Linked DNA regions of Homo sapiens: regions 2 and 3 are each linked to region 1. The links are contacts of gene promoters, found by promoter capture Hi-C in blood cells and fetal thymus (Javierre and others, 2016). All regions are on one chromosome and are shown on one strand. The core of a region is centred on a gene start or on the middle of the fragment in contact, and the rest is flanking DNA. Distances in the headings are between cores, read along the strand shown. Region 1 holds the start of SSH1 (slingshot protein phosphatase 1). Region 2 overlaps SART3 (spliceosome associated factor 3, U4/U6 recycling protein). Region 3 holds the start of ACACB (acetyl-CoA carboxylase beta).

Region 1 (4,187 bases), core at 1,229-3,728:
CAAAACAAAGTGTATTTTCCCTTCCTTTCCCTCCCCTCCCCTCCTCTCCCCTCCCCTCCCCTCCCCTCCCCTCCTCTCCCCTCCCCTCCTCTCCCCTCCCCTCCTCTCCCCTCCTCTCCCCTCCCCTCCCCTCCCCTCCTCTCCCCTCCCCTCCTCTCCCCTCCCCTCCTCTCCCCTCCTCTCCCCTCCTCTCCCCTCCCCTCCCCTCCCTTCCCTTCTCTCTTTCTCTCTGTCTTGCTGTGTCACACAGGCTGGAGTGCAGTGGCACGATCTCAGATTGCTGCAACCTCTGCCTCCCGGGTTCAAGTGATTCTCCTGCCTCAGCCTCCTGAGTAGCTGAGATTATAGGTGCCCGCCACCATGCCTGGCTAATTTTTTGTATTTTTAGGAGAGACAGGGTTTCAACATAGTCACCTTTCTGAAAATTCAGTAAAAAATACCAGGCTAGCCATGGTGGCTTCTGTCTGTAATCCCAGCACTTTGGAAGGCGGAAGCAGGAGGATTGCCTGGGCAACATAGTTAAACTTTTTTTTTAAAGGAGCTGGGTGTGGTGGTGTGTACCCGTTGTACTCAGGAGACTGAAGCAGGAGGATGATTTGAGCCTGGGAGATGGAGGCTGCAGTGAGCTATGATTGTGACATTGCACTTCAGCCTGGGTGACGGGAGTGAGACCCTGTTTCAGAAAAAAAGTGAGAGAAAGAGAGGAAGGAAGGAAGGAAGGCAGGAAGGAAGGAAGGAAGGAAGGAAGGAAGGAAGGAAGACTAGTGTTGATGCATGAAATGGAGTTAGGTTCTGGCTTCAAATTACTATAAATGGGTTTTTCACCCAGGAAACATTTTGTGGGAATGGAGCAATTCTTGTTGGGGAGACTGTCCAGTGCATTGGAAGACATTTAGCATCCAAGGCTCTTGCACTCTAAATGCCAGGAGCTCTCCCCCTCCATCAGCAAGACAACCACAAACATTCCCACAAATCCCCTCTTAGAAACGCTCCGTAGAAGCTACAGTGCCCCCCACTAGAATCACCTTTGAGATGAATCGTGCTGAGACCCTGTGAATAACATGGAGGAGGTCACAGCCCCAGGACAGAGGGAGGGACGGGGAAGAATCCAGGAGGCTGCGTGGGTTTCCTGTTGGGCAGTAAGACAAATTTGCTAAGCTGCGGGGCAGGCTGGGACCACTGCGTTTGCGAGTGCTTGTGCAACATGCAGAGGTTGGGGGTGGGAGCCGGGAGATGAGATTTTGGCTAAAAGAAAAGTTTCCTACTACTAAGTCAAGCCAGAATTGCCTTCTTGGTATCTTATTCCATGTTCCCCTCTCCATCCCCATAACTGGTCACCTCTCCCCGGGACAACAGCAGCAGCCTCCTCCCTGGTCTCCCTCAGCCCTCTGCCCCGTGGTCCCTCATCCACGCAGCAGCCGGAGCGATCTTTCCAGAGAGGATGGAGACTCCAGCCATTCCTCCCCTCTTCCCTTCCCTGAGTGCTGGCCTCCGGTTGACAAACTTCTTCCTGCTTCAGGGCACGCTGATCCCCCCTGCTTGGAGAGCTGTCTCTCTGTTCTTTCACCTGTTAATCCTGCTTATGCTCAAGCCCAAGCCTCAGAATAAAGCTCTTCTGGGAAGCCTTCCCTGACCTCCAAGGAGTTGGCTGGGTTTCAGAACACCCAGAAAGAATTCATTGAAAAAGATTAGCAAAATACTTTTTTAAAAACGTGCCTAATAACTTGATTAACCTCTGCAAAATCAGGCGAATCTATTTTGCTTACTGTTTTTGTTTTTTGTTTTTTGTTTTTTTGAGACCGAGTCTCGCTCTGTCGCCCAGGCTGGAGTGCAGTGGCGCGATCTCAGCTCATTGCAACCTCCGCCTCCCAGATTCAAGCGATTCTCTTGCCTCAGCCTCCCGAGTAGCTGGGACTACAGGCGCGCACCACTGCGCCCAGCTAATTTTTGTCTTTTTAGTAGAGACGGGGTTTCACCATGTTGGCCAGGATGGTCTCGATCTCTTGACCTCGTAATCCGCCCGCCTCAGCCTCCCAAAGTGCTGGGATTACAGGCGTGAGCCACCGCGCCCGGCCCCAGGACGTCTTTTATTTCCTGGTCGCTGTACAGTCCTGTCTGCACGGTCGCCGGGCCTCAGTTTCCCCAGGCAGAGCAGCGGGCAGGGCCCCTGGGGCGTACGGGCTCCGGGCGGCGCGCGCGCCCCCGAGTCCCAGGCCTGATAGCGGGGCGCGCGGGCGGGGGCGCGTGTGTCGGGCGCGCGAGGGACGTGATCGACCAGCCGAGGCCTCGGGCAGCCCTCAGGGCCCCCGCGCACGCGCGCCTCCTCGTCCCGCCCTGCCCGCTTCCCCGCCCACTCCGCGCACTGAGGCCTGCGCGCGCCGGCGCGGGAGGCGGGAGCTGGGGGCGGGGGCGGTGGCGACGCCGAGGGGGAGGGGCGGGCCCGGCCCGGCTCGGCCCGGCCGCCCGCGCGCGGCTCCAGGAGGCCCCGGGCCCGGCCCGGGCGGCGGTGGCGGTGGCGGCTCTAGCTCGAGACGTCTGTGGCGCCCTCGCACCGCGCCGCAGCCATGGCCCTGGTGACCCTGCAGCGCTCGCCCACGCCCAGCGCCGCCTCCTCCTCGGCCAGCAACAGCGAGGTGAGCCCCGGGCTCGCCGCGCCCGGCCTGGGCCGCCGGACGCCGCGCCGAGGCCGCCGGAGCTGGGGCCGCGCGTGCGGGGCAGGGGGGCGGCTGCGCGGGCTCCTCGGGGCCCCGCCGTAGGAACAGAGCCGGGCAGCCGGACCGGGGTGACCGTGCGAGGACTGTGTGCGATGTGACCCTGTCTTGGGGAGCTGTGCGGGGACTTTGTGTGCGGTGTGACCCCTATCGGGGGGCGACTTTGCAGGGACTGTGTATGCAGTGCGACCCCTCTGGGAGTGTCTGCAGGATACTGTGTGTGCGCTGTGACCCACATCAGGGGGTTACCCCCATCTTGGGGTGACCCCTGTTAGGCGGAGACTGTGTGCGTTGTGACCCCTAAGGGTGACTGTGCAGAGACTGTGTGTGCAGATGTGACCTCGTGATTGTGTGGGGACTGTGATTTCAGGTGTGACCCCCATCTTGGGTTGACCTCTGTCTGGGGAGGACTGTGCGTCTGTCGGGACTCCCATTTGTGAGTGACTCTGCAGTGTGACCAGGGTCCAGGGGTGACTGGATGTGCAACTGGGACCCTTGATTGGGTGACTGCGTGAGCCGCTGGTTCTGAGACCTGTGGCCGGGGTAGTTCTAGGCCCTTTGCCTGTATGCCTGGCTGTGCGATGTGAGATGTGACTGTTGCTGACCTGCCGTCCGGGGACTGTGCCAGCGTGAGACAGGCATCTGGGAGTGCCCCTACAAACGTGTGAGATTGTTTCCCCGCCTGCCGCCTCTGGAGTTCTGTCTGTAGGCGTGCCCGTGTCACTGTGTGACGGTGACCGAGCGTGCTGTGGGCTCTGTGTGGCTGTGTTTCACGTCTGTGCGTGCAGCCTTAGTCTGGCTTTTCCTTTCTGTAACATCACTCAGGCCTGTGTGTTTATGTGCATCTATCTTTCTGTGTGGCTGTGACCCATTCTGGGTGATTGCATAGGTGCATTCCTGGGTTGCGTGTCCTGGCACTGTGCGCGTTTTTGTGGGTCTGTGTGTGGCCCAGGTCCGTTTGCCTGGCCACTTTTTCCTCTGGGGTTGATTGAGGGCACTGTTGCCCTCTTAGCCTGCAGGGTTGGCCTGGCTTGTCCTAGGCTGGGGCCTTGGGCCTCTGAGCAGGTCAGCCCTCTGTAGCTGCAGGGATGACCCTCTGGTCGCGCAATCTTGCCCACCATCTCTTGAAGAACCCGTCAAGGCCTCTGGTCTAAACTCTTACCTATAACAAGGCTGAGTGTCCGCCTGCAGACCCTTAGCTGTGTTTAGAGAAGACTGGAGGAGCGGCCCTGCGGTCCCAGGCCCAGGAAGTTCCGCAGCCAGCATCTGGGCTCTTCAGCCCCTTTCTTTGTGGGAGGGAGTGGGGGAAGTTGACTGATAACACGGGGGAGGTTTGTGTGTCTGAGAGAGACAAGAGAATAATGTTTGCATTTGGCTTGACAGCCCTGTCTCCTGGTAGGGTAGTTCTTCAGCCTTGTTTTGCTGGGATTGGCAGGGACATTTTCAGAGTGGCTGGGAAGTTGAACCTTCACAGCC
Region 2 (4,187 bases), core at 936-3,435, 310 kb after region 1:
TATTTATTTGTTTTGCCTGTGGATATCCATTTGCTCCAGCATCATTTTTTGAAAATGCCTTTTTTTTTCCTCTGTTGCATTGCGTTTGTCAAAAATTATTTGGGCATATTTGTGTGGGTCTGTTACTGGGTTCTATTCTCTTCATCTATGTATCTTTCTGCCATTCTCACACTGCCTTGATGATTGTAGCTGTATTGTAGGTTTTAGTATCAATCAGGTAGAGTGATTACTCCCACTTTATTCTTTTTCAAGATCATTTTTAGCTATTCTAGGGCCTCTGCCATCCCATATACATTTTAGAATAAGCTTGTCTAGGTCTACAAAAAACCTTGTTGGGATTTTAATTGGAGTTTCAGTAAGCCTGTAAGTCAGTTTAGGGAGAATTTACTTCTTGACTATGTTGAGTTTTTCAATCCATGAACATGAAGTGTCTCTTTTTTTAGGTCTTTGATTTCTTTCCTCAGCATTTTGTAATTTTCAGCATACAGATTTTGTAAACTTTTTAAATATACACCTAATTATTTAGGTTTTTTGGAGTGATTGTAAATGGTGCTATGTCTTTAAATTTGGTTTCCACATGTTCTTTTGTTTTTTTTTTTGTTTTTGTATGTTTATCTTATATTCTGTGACCTTGCTCAGTTCACTATTTTTGGAGTTTTTTTTTTTTTTAATTGGTTCCTTAAGATTGTCTACTTAGCCATATCATCTACAAATCAGGACAGTTTTATTTTTCCGAGCTGTATAGCTTTTATTTCTTTTCCTTGTCTTATTGAACAGGCTAGAACTTATAGGACTTTGTTGGAAAAGAGTGGTGAGAGCAGACATCCTTGCCTTGTTCTTGATTTTAGGAGGAAAGTGTTCAATCTTTTACCATTAGGAATGATGTTAAGGTAACCCTATATCCCAACTTATGGGATAGATTTTTTATAGATGCTCTTTATCAGGTTGAGGTTGTTTCCCTCTATTCCTAACATGCTGAGTGTTTTAACCATGAATCGTTGTTGGATTTTGTCACATGCATTTTCTGCATCTATTGATACCATGAGTTTTCTTTAGCCTTTTGATACACTGGATTACAGTAATTGATTTTTAAATGTTGAATTAGCCTTGCAAACCTGGAATAAATACCACTTGGTCATGGTGTATAATTCTTCTTATACACTGAATTTAGTTCTTTAAATTTTCCTCCGTACTGTTTTAGTAGCATCCTACTTATTTTGATTTGTTGCAATTTCATTTTCATTCACTTTTTTTAATTTGTAAATTTTCTTGGAGACTTCCTCTTTGACCTGCAGATTATTTAGAAGTGTATTACTTAATTTTCACGTGTTCAGAGATTTTCTTACTGTTAGTGGTTTCTAATTTGATTCCATTGTGGTCACAAAACATACTCTGCATGGTTTTCATTTCTCTTAAATTGTTGAGGTTTGTTTTATGGCCAAGGATATGGCTTCAGTGAATGTTCCGTAAGTACTTGAGAAAAATACATATTCTGTATTGTTGGGTGGGCTGTTCTCTATATAAATTAGGTCATGTTCGTTGACGGCGTTATTGAGTTCTTCTATAACCCTGTTCTGCCTAGTTTAAAAAAAAATTAAACAATTTCCTTTCTTTTTAAAAACTTAAAAATTTTTTAATTTGCTTTTGTCTAATTTTCTTTTTCTTTTATTCATCTTCTTTTTGACCAGGTTCAACATATTCAAGTGTCTAGTAGTTTTATCAGTTGCTGAAAAGGGAGATGTTGAAGTTGCCAAATGTAATTGCTGCTGTGTCTCTTTGAGCTCTGTAATAGTTTTTGCTTCATGAATTTTCAAGCGCTCTTTGGTTCCTACACATTTAGGATTGTTATGTCTTCCTGGTAGATTGATCTATTTATTATTATGTGTCATTATATAATCCTTTTTATCTCTAGTAATTTTCTTTGCTCTGAAGTGTACGTTATGTGATATTAATATGTCCGCTTCAACTTTTTAATTAATGCTTGCATGTTATCTTTTTCTCTCCTTTTCCTTTCAACCAGTTTACCTGTGTCTTTGAATTTGAAATGAATTTCTTGTACTCACCATATAGTTGGGTTGTGTTTTTATCCACTCTACCATTATCTACCTTTTAATTAGCATATATGCACCATTCGCATTTAAGGCAATTGTTGGTTTATTCAGACCAAAGCCTGCCGTTTTACTATTTTCTGTTTATTTTCTGTTTCTCATTCTTCTGTTTCTCCTTTCTTGCCTTTCTGTGGATTATTTGAATATTTTTTAGATTTTCATCTTGATTTATTTATTTATTTTTTTGAGATGGAGCCTTGTTTTGTCACCCAGGCTGGATCTCTGCTCACTGCAACCTCCGCCTCCCGGGTTCAAGCAATTCTCCTGTCTCAGCCTCCTGAGTAGCTGGACTACAGGCATGTGCCACCACACCCAGCTAATTTTTTGTATTTTTTGGTAGAGACAGGGTTTCACCATGTTGGCCAGGCTGGTCTTGAACTCCTGACCTCATGATCTGCCCGCTTTGGCCTCCCAAAGTGCTGGGATTACAGGTGTGAGCCACCATGCCCAGCCATCTTGATTTATTTAAGGTGATTTTTAGTGTAATTGCTTTGAATAGTTTTCTCAGTGGTTGCTTTGGGTATTAAAATATACGGAGTTGACTTACATGGTATCCGTGTTTTACCACTTGAATGAAGTGAGGGAATCTTCCATTTCAGTTCTCTTTCCATCCCCACTTTTAAATAATACTGTGTTGGGTATCAGAAGTTCTTACAATGTTTGTTCCATTACATATGATTTAGAAAGCTCATGAGGAGAGGAGGATAATCTGTCGTAGTTCCCGTATTTCTGCTCTTCCTGTTCTTTCTTCCTTTTTGATGCTTTAGGATTCCTTCTTCTAACTTTTCTGTTCGAAGAACTTCCTTTAGCTATTCTTCAAGGGTAGGTCTGCTAGTGACATTTTTTTCATTTTTCTTTGTCTCAGATATATGGTAACTTAAAATAATTTTAGTTTGAAAAGTTTCAAATGTACAAATAAAACTTTATGTACCTGTCACTCAGCATCAACAGATACCAACCTGCTGCCACTCTTGTTTCTCTAATAGGGATTTCTATCTTTTTTTTTTTTTTTTTTTTTTTGAGATTGGGTCTTGCTCTGTCACCCAGGCCTAGAGTGCAGTGGTGTGGTCTCGGCTCGCTGCAACCTCTGTCTCCCAGGCTCAGGTGATCCACTTCAGCCTCCCAAGTAGCTGGGACCACAGGTGCATGCCACCATGTCTGGCTAATTTTTTGTATTTTTGGTAGAGATAGGGTTTGACTGTGTTGCTGAGGCTGGTCTCGAACTCCTGAGCTCAAGCAATCCACCTGCCTCGGCCTCCCAAAGTGCTGGGATCACAGATGTGAGCCACCACAACTGGCTTCCATCTTTTTTATTTAGTAAAATAAAAGAGGTCTTACAGTGTACCTCACATGTGCTAAAGGACGTTATGAAATTACCTTTTTATTTTTTAGTTTTTCTTAAAGACCAGTGTAACAGTAGAAATTTTTTAAATCCTTGGAAGACCTGGTATGAGCTAGAAACTAGTAGTGTCCTCATTTTATAGATGAGGAAATAGAGCTTAGGAAAGTAAATAACTTACCTAAGGTCACATACTTTTTATTTGTTTCATTAGAATGCCTCCTTTATTTCCAAGAGAACCCAAATGTCTTCTAACAGGAACTGTAACAGATTTGAGGGAGCTTTATGTTTGTTACAAAAGCCTCTTTTATTGTTTTGTCTTCTACCTGTGGGTACGTGCTGGGTTGCTGTTTCAGTGGTTTTCTCAGATAGCACGTTTATTTTGTTTGTGGCAGGTATATGTGTAGTTACCAGTAGTGACAAAAGCTAAGTTACTTGATGACGGTGTTTTAAATTTCAACTTGTTTCTTTTCCTGTTAGTTGTCTATCAACGTCTATGACTACAACTGCCATGTGGACTTGATCAGACTGCTCAGGCTGGAAGGGGAGCTTACCAAGGTGAGGATGGCCCGCCAGAAGATGAGTGAAATCTTTCCCTTGACTGAAGGTAAGCTTCAGCAGTCAGGCTGCTTTTAGAAACAGAAACAAGGCTTGCACATTTTTTACAATGTTGAAAGTGGGACATGCTCCTTGTAGAAAACCTGGAACGTTCAGTGTAGTGGAAAGAAGAAAACGCATCA
Region 3 (4,187 bases), core at 716-3,215, 260 kb before region 1:
ATCCCAGCTACTCGGGAGACTGAGACTGAGGAATTGCTTGAACCTGGGAGGCAGGGGTTGCAGTGAGCTGAGATTGTGCCATCGCACTCCAGCCTGGGTGACAGGACGAGACTCTGTCTCAAAAAAAAAAAAAAAAAAAGAACAAGGTCAAAGTTTCTACTGGGATAAGACTTCAAGGAAACCTCCATTTCAAAAGATTAAAATGTTTATTTCCCCATGAAGACTGGGTATCTCATGTAATGTAATACTCAAATTTCTGTCTCAGACCTAAAGGTGTTGAAAGTATGAGCGAGTTTACACAACACCTGAGCAGGAGCAAATAAAACTCTTAAGAGCTTCTGAAAGAAAGTTACAGATTAGAGATATTTTCATCTCTAAATCACATGAATTAGGATTGGCTGGGTCTTTCCACTTAAAACTTGGAGAAGTCATAAAAAGAAATCTTGTAAAGAACTCCATGTCACTATTAGCAGAAACATGCAATTTATAAAATGATATCTTTGGCCAGGCGCGGTGGCTCATGCCTGTAATCCCAGCACTCTGGGAGGCCGAGGCGGGCGGATCACTTGAGGTCAGGAGATCGAGACCATCCTGGCTAACACAGTGAAACCCTGTCTCTACTAAAAATACAAAAAAAATTAGCCGGGCGTGGTAGTGGGTGCCTGTAGTCCCAGCTACTTGGGAGGCTGAGGCAGGAGAATGGCGTGAACCCAGGAGGCGGAGCTTGCAGTGAGCACTCCATCTCAAATAATAATGATAATAATAATATCTTCACCTTTCAGTTTTTAAATTGCAAGTCCCATGTCCCGGGAATTCCCCGGTCCTGGGCAAAGTGGGATGGTTGGTCACCCAACCTATATGGATGCCCATTGATATTAAAAAATAAAAGTAATCACAATAGACATGAGGGAGAGAGTTGTGTACAGTGTGAGTGTACAGAATAAAAGGTCTGGGGGGTTTATACCAAAATGTGCACAGTGGCTACCTGGAGGAGGAGGGTTAGACAGGAATAACAGCAAGGAGACTTTTGCACGGTGCTGAGTGACTTTTTAACTTGCATATTATTTTGGAATGCATTTTTTCAACATTGAAAGAAAGTCATGTCTTCCTAGAAATATAGGATATAGGACCACTACAAACGCTTTACTCTTAGTCTCCTTTTTTTCTTTTTCTTTTCTTTTTTTTTTTTTTTGAGACAGAGTCTTGCTCTGTCAGTCAGGCTGGAATGCAGTGGCGCAATTTTAGCTCACTGCAACCCCCACCTCCTGGGTTCAAGCGATTCTCCTGCCTCAGCCTCCCAAGTAGCTGGGATTACAGGTGCCCATCACCACATCTGGCTAATTTTTATGTGTTTAGTACAGATGGGGTTTCGCCATGTTGGCCAGGCTGGTCTCGAACTCCTGACCTCAAGTGATCCACCTGCCTCTGCCTCCCAAGGTGCTGGGTGGCATGAGCCACCGTGCCCAGCCTTAGTCTGCTTTAAAAAAAAAAAAAAAAAAAAAAAGAACAACCATTTGAGGAAACAGAAACAGAATACTATTCCTTAAGACAGTAGCTTTGGAGGCAAAAAACAGAATTGTTTATAAAACGTTGTGGAACTTATATGGGAGCATGTCCAGGGATCCACACCACCATTTATAGAAGCAAAGAAAGGCCCTTCTCTTTCATCTGCGTTACATTTCGAGCTCTTCTGATTAGCTTCCTTCAAACATGACGGGAGTCGTTTTTCCCCGGGGACCCCAAGTGCATGCCTTCAGACAGGGTCTGCTCTCACTATACATTGGGTTCGAATTTACCTGGACGTTGGCAGAATGGTCCGGACCCCGGGGAGGGGCGAGCTGACTTACCACTTTATTCCTGCCGCTTTTCTCTTGCCATGTCCTCCCCACCGTGCATTCAGGGTTACATTTTCCAGGTTCCTTGTTTGCTGAGGGCCTGAATCTAAGCCTGCTAGCTGCTTACTCTGGGGACTGCAAATGTCACTTTTAGATTAATCAGCCCCTGCTGTTTAAAAATATCCCTGGAGCACTTAACCTTCAAAGCAGCAACAACCCGGGGCAAAGATGAGAAAGATCCCACGTCAAACCACTTGTGCAGCCCTGGCTACTCCTGGGAGAGTTCTGCTATCTGCCTTTTAATCCCATAACTCGCTTTATTTCATAATTCTTAGCTGTTGAAGCCATGAGGCATCTAAAGTCCATGTTGTCGTAAGCAGTAGGCAGAAAGTCATCTGGGCCCTCCTGTGACATGCTGAAAATTAACTGCCTACAGGTGTTGGTCATTTGAGAAACAAGCCCCCATTGAAAACCGTGAATGGGAAGGTGATCGCTATCAGGTCACCTGGCTTCTCTCCCCTGAAAAGATTTGGCGAAACCCTCTCAAATCACGCCACTTAATGGAATGTTTCCAATTTCTTGTGACTTGGGGATAAAAGAAAAAAACAGCTCCATTGCCACATTCTCATTCAGGGTTGACTGGCTCTTGCTAGGGTTGAGCACAGAAGAGGAAATTCAGCACACGCTGCAGTTACATAGTGTTCTGCAACGTGGGGAGGGCTGGCATGTGGGACAAAGGTCGCCTCCAAGGCCCAGCTGGAGAAGCCCAGCCAACTAGGCAGCAGGAAAGTGGAGACCACATAGGAGCACATTGTGCTCAGGCAACAGGGAAGGTGGAACCCACTTCCTGCCAACAATGATGGCCTTACTAAACAGCAAGTGGAGAAACTGGCGAGAGCGCTGAGCACGGGATCTGTGCAAAATGGTTTAAATGGAAATTGCTGCTGGGGCTGGTGCAGCCTGTTCACAGCTACTTTGTTTCTGGGCTTATTTTGCAATAAGGAACAGTCATTGAATATTGGACTTCTTGGGATTTTCTCCACTGGACTTGGAAGCATGTGCTCTGGAAACCTCAGCATTATCAGCTGTAACCCCACAGCACCAGGTACATGTTACAGGAACCGGGGTGAAGGAATGCAGGTCAAATGCCTGCACAATGCCCGGCCCGAGTCATATGTTCTCTAGCCACAGTAGCCCTTGTGATGGCTCTTAGTCTATTTATTAAGACAATAAAAGAGGTGACTCTCAAACAAACCTATGTTTCCAGGGAGAGCCATCTGTGATTCAAGGACATTTTTATAAAATTCCATTGAAAAAAATTCTTAGGCTTCTAACTTCATGAAAAAAAAATTCTTTCCCAGTGATTCCAAATAATCATGATCTAGGCAGGGTGTTGACAGTGGCAGGACTATTAGGCTTTGAAATCAAGCTGATGTGGGTTTGAATCCTCCCTCCATTAGCCATGACTTTGAGCAAATGGCTGAGCTTCAGTGTCCTCATCAACTACTTCACCATATGGGTGAGAAAATGAAATGATTTATATTGAGTTTCTGGCACAGGGGCTTGCTCATGACAAGCACTTAATATCTTTCTAATGAAATTCATTACTTGCAAAAAGACTAGACATACCCACACATACAGGTGAAGAACTCTGCAGTGATTCAGTTCTCCCTAGACACTATCTCTTTAAGACACAGGTATTTTCCAGAATATAATTGGAAGGCTTGAAACCAAAGTTATTCATAAACTCTTTCCATCAAACACAAGAACGGTAATAGAAATATATTTCTTCAAACAGCTGTTAGTTTCAGAAAGTCACAGGTATCAAGTTACATTTTTTGTTTTGTTTTGTTTTGTTTTAGAAATAGGATCTTGCTCTGTTGCCCAGGCTGGATGGAGTGCAGTGGCATGATCATAGCTCACTGCAGCCTCGAACTCCTGGGCTCAAATGATCCTCCTGCCTCAGCTTCCCAAGTAGCTAGAACTACAGGCACACACCACCCCTGGCTAATTAAAAAAAAAAAAATTTTTTTTTTTTAAAGACAAGGTCTCATTATGTTGCCCAAGTTGGTCTTGAACTCCTGGCCTAAAGCGATCTTCTTGCCTTGCCTCCTAAAGCACTGGGATTACAGGTATGAGCCACTGTACCTGGCCCAAAAAAAATTATTAAGTGACCACATGGTCTAACAAAACAAGGCACCTGGAAAGAAATCACCAGTCCTGCTGCAAACCGGACCCTCTGTGAGAATTCACATGCCTTCCCCCACCAATTAAATCAGAATTTCCAGGGATGGGGTCTGGCTTTGCATGTTTTAGCTTCTCTAGGCTGGAGGAGCACTAGCTTCTTGTTGG

The links. The method cuts DNA at HindIII sites, captures the fragments that hold promoters and counts their contacts. A CHiCAGO score of 5 or more calls a contact.
Region 2: a fragment that was not itself captured here is called in contact with the fragment with the promoter of SSH1 in region 1 in 4 of 17 cell types (neutrophils, non-activated CD4 T cells, total CD8 T cells and 1 more); the score reaches 8.5 in neutrophils.
Region 3: the fragment with the promoter of ACACB here is called in contact with the fragment with the promoter of SSH1 in region 1 in 4 of 17 cell types (activated CD4 T cells, non-activated CD4 T cells, naive CD8 T cells and 1 more); the score reaches 7.3 in activated CD4 T cells.

The regions. Positions count from the first base shown.
Region 1 is chr12:108,855,874-108,860,060 of GRCh38, reverse strand. It overlaps SSH1 (slingshot protein phosphatase 1), which reads left to right and starts at 2,478. Exons shown (of 15, transcript NM_018984.4): 1 at 2,478-2,633. The coding sequence starts at 2,565. RefSeq lists a silencer at 2,009-2,748 and enhancers at 3,179-3,228, 3,281-3,782. The HindIII fragment of the contact is 10,101 bases long and covers 1-4,187 here.
Region 2 is chr12:108,548,955-108,553,141 of GRCh38, reverse strand. It overlaps SART3 (spliceosome associated factor 3, U4/U6 recycling protein), which reads left to right. Exons shown (of 19, transcript NM_014706.4): 2 at 3,928-4,054. Among named protein-coding and RNA genes, the nearest start is that of SART3, 10 kb to the left of the region's middle. RefSeq lists a silencer at 3,797-3,866. The HindIII fragment of the contact is 3,753 bases long and covers 309-4,061 here.
Region 3 is chr12:109,114,365-109,118,551 of GRCh38, reverse strand. It overlaps ACACB (acetyl-CoA carboxylase beta), which reads right to left and starts at 1,965. Exons shown (of 53, transcript NM_001093.4): 1 at 1,848-1,965. The HindIII fragment of the contact is 11,769 bases long and covers 1-4,187 here.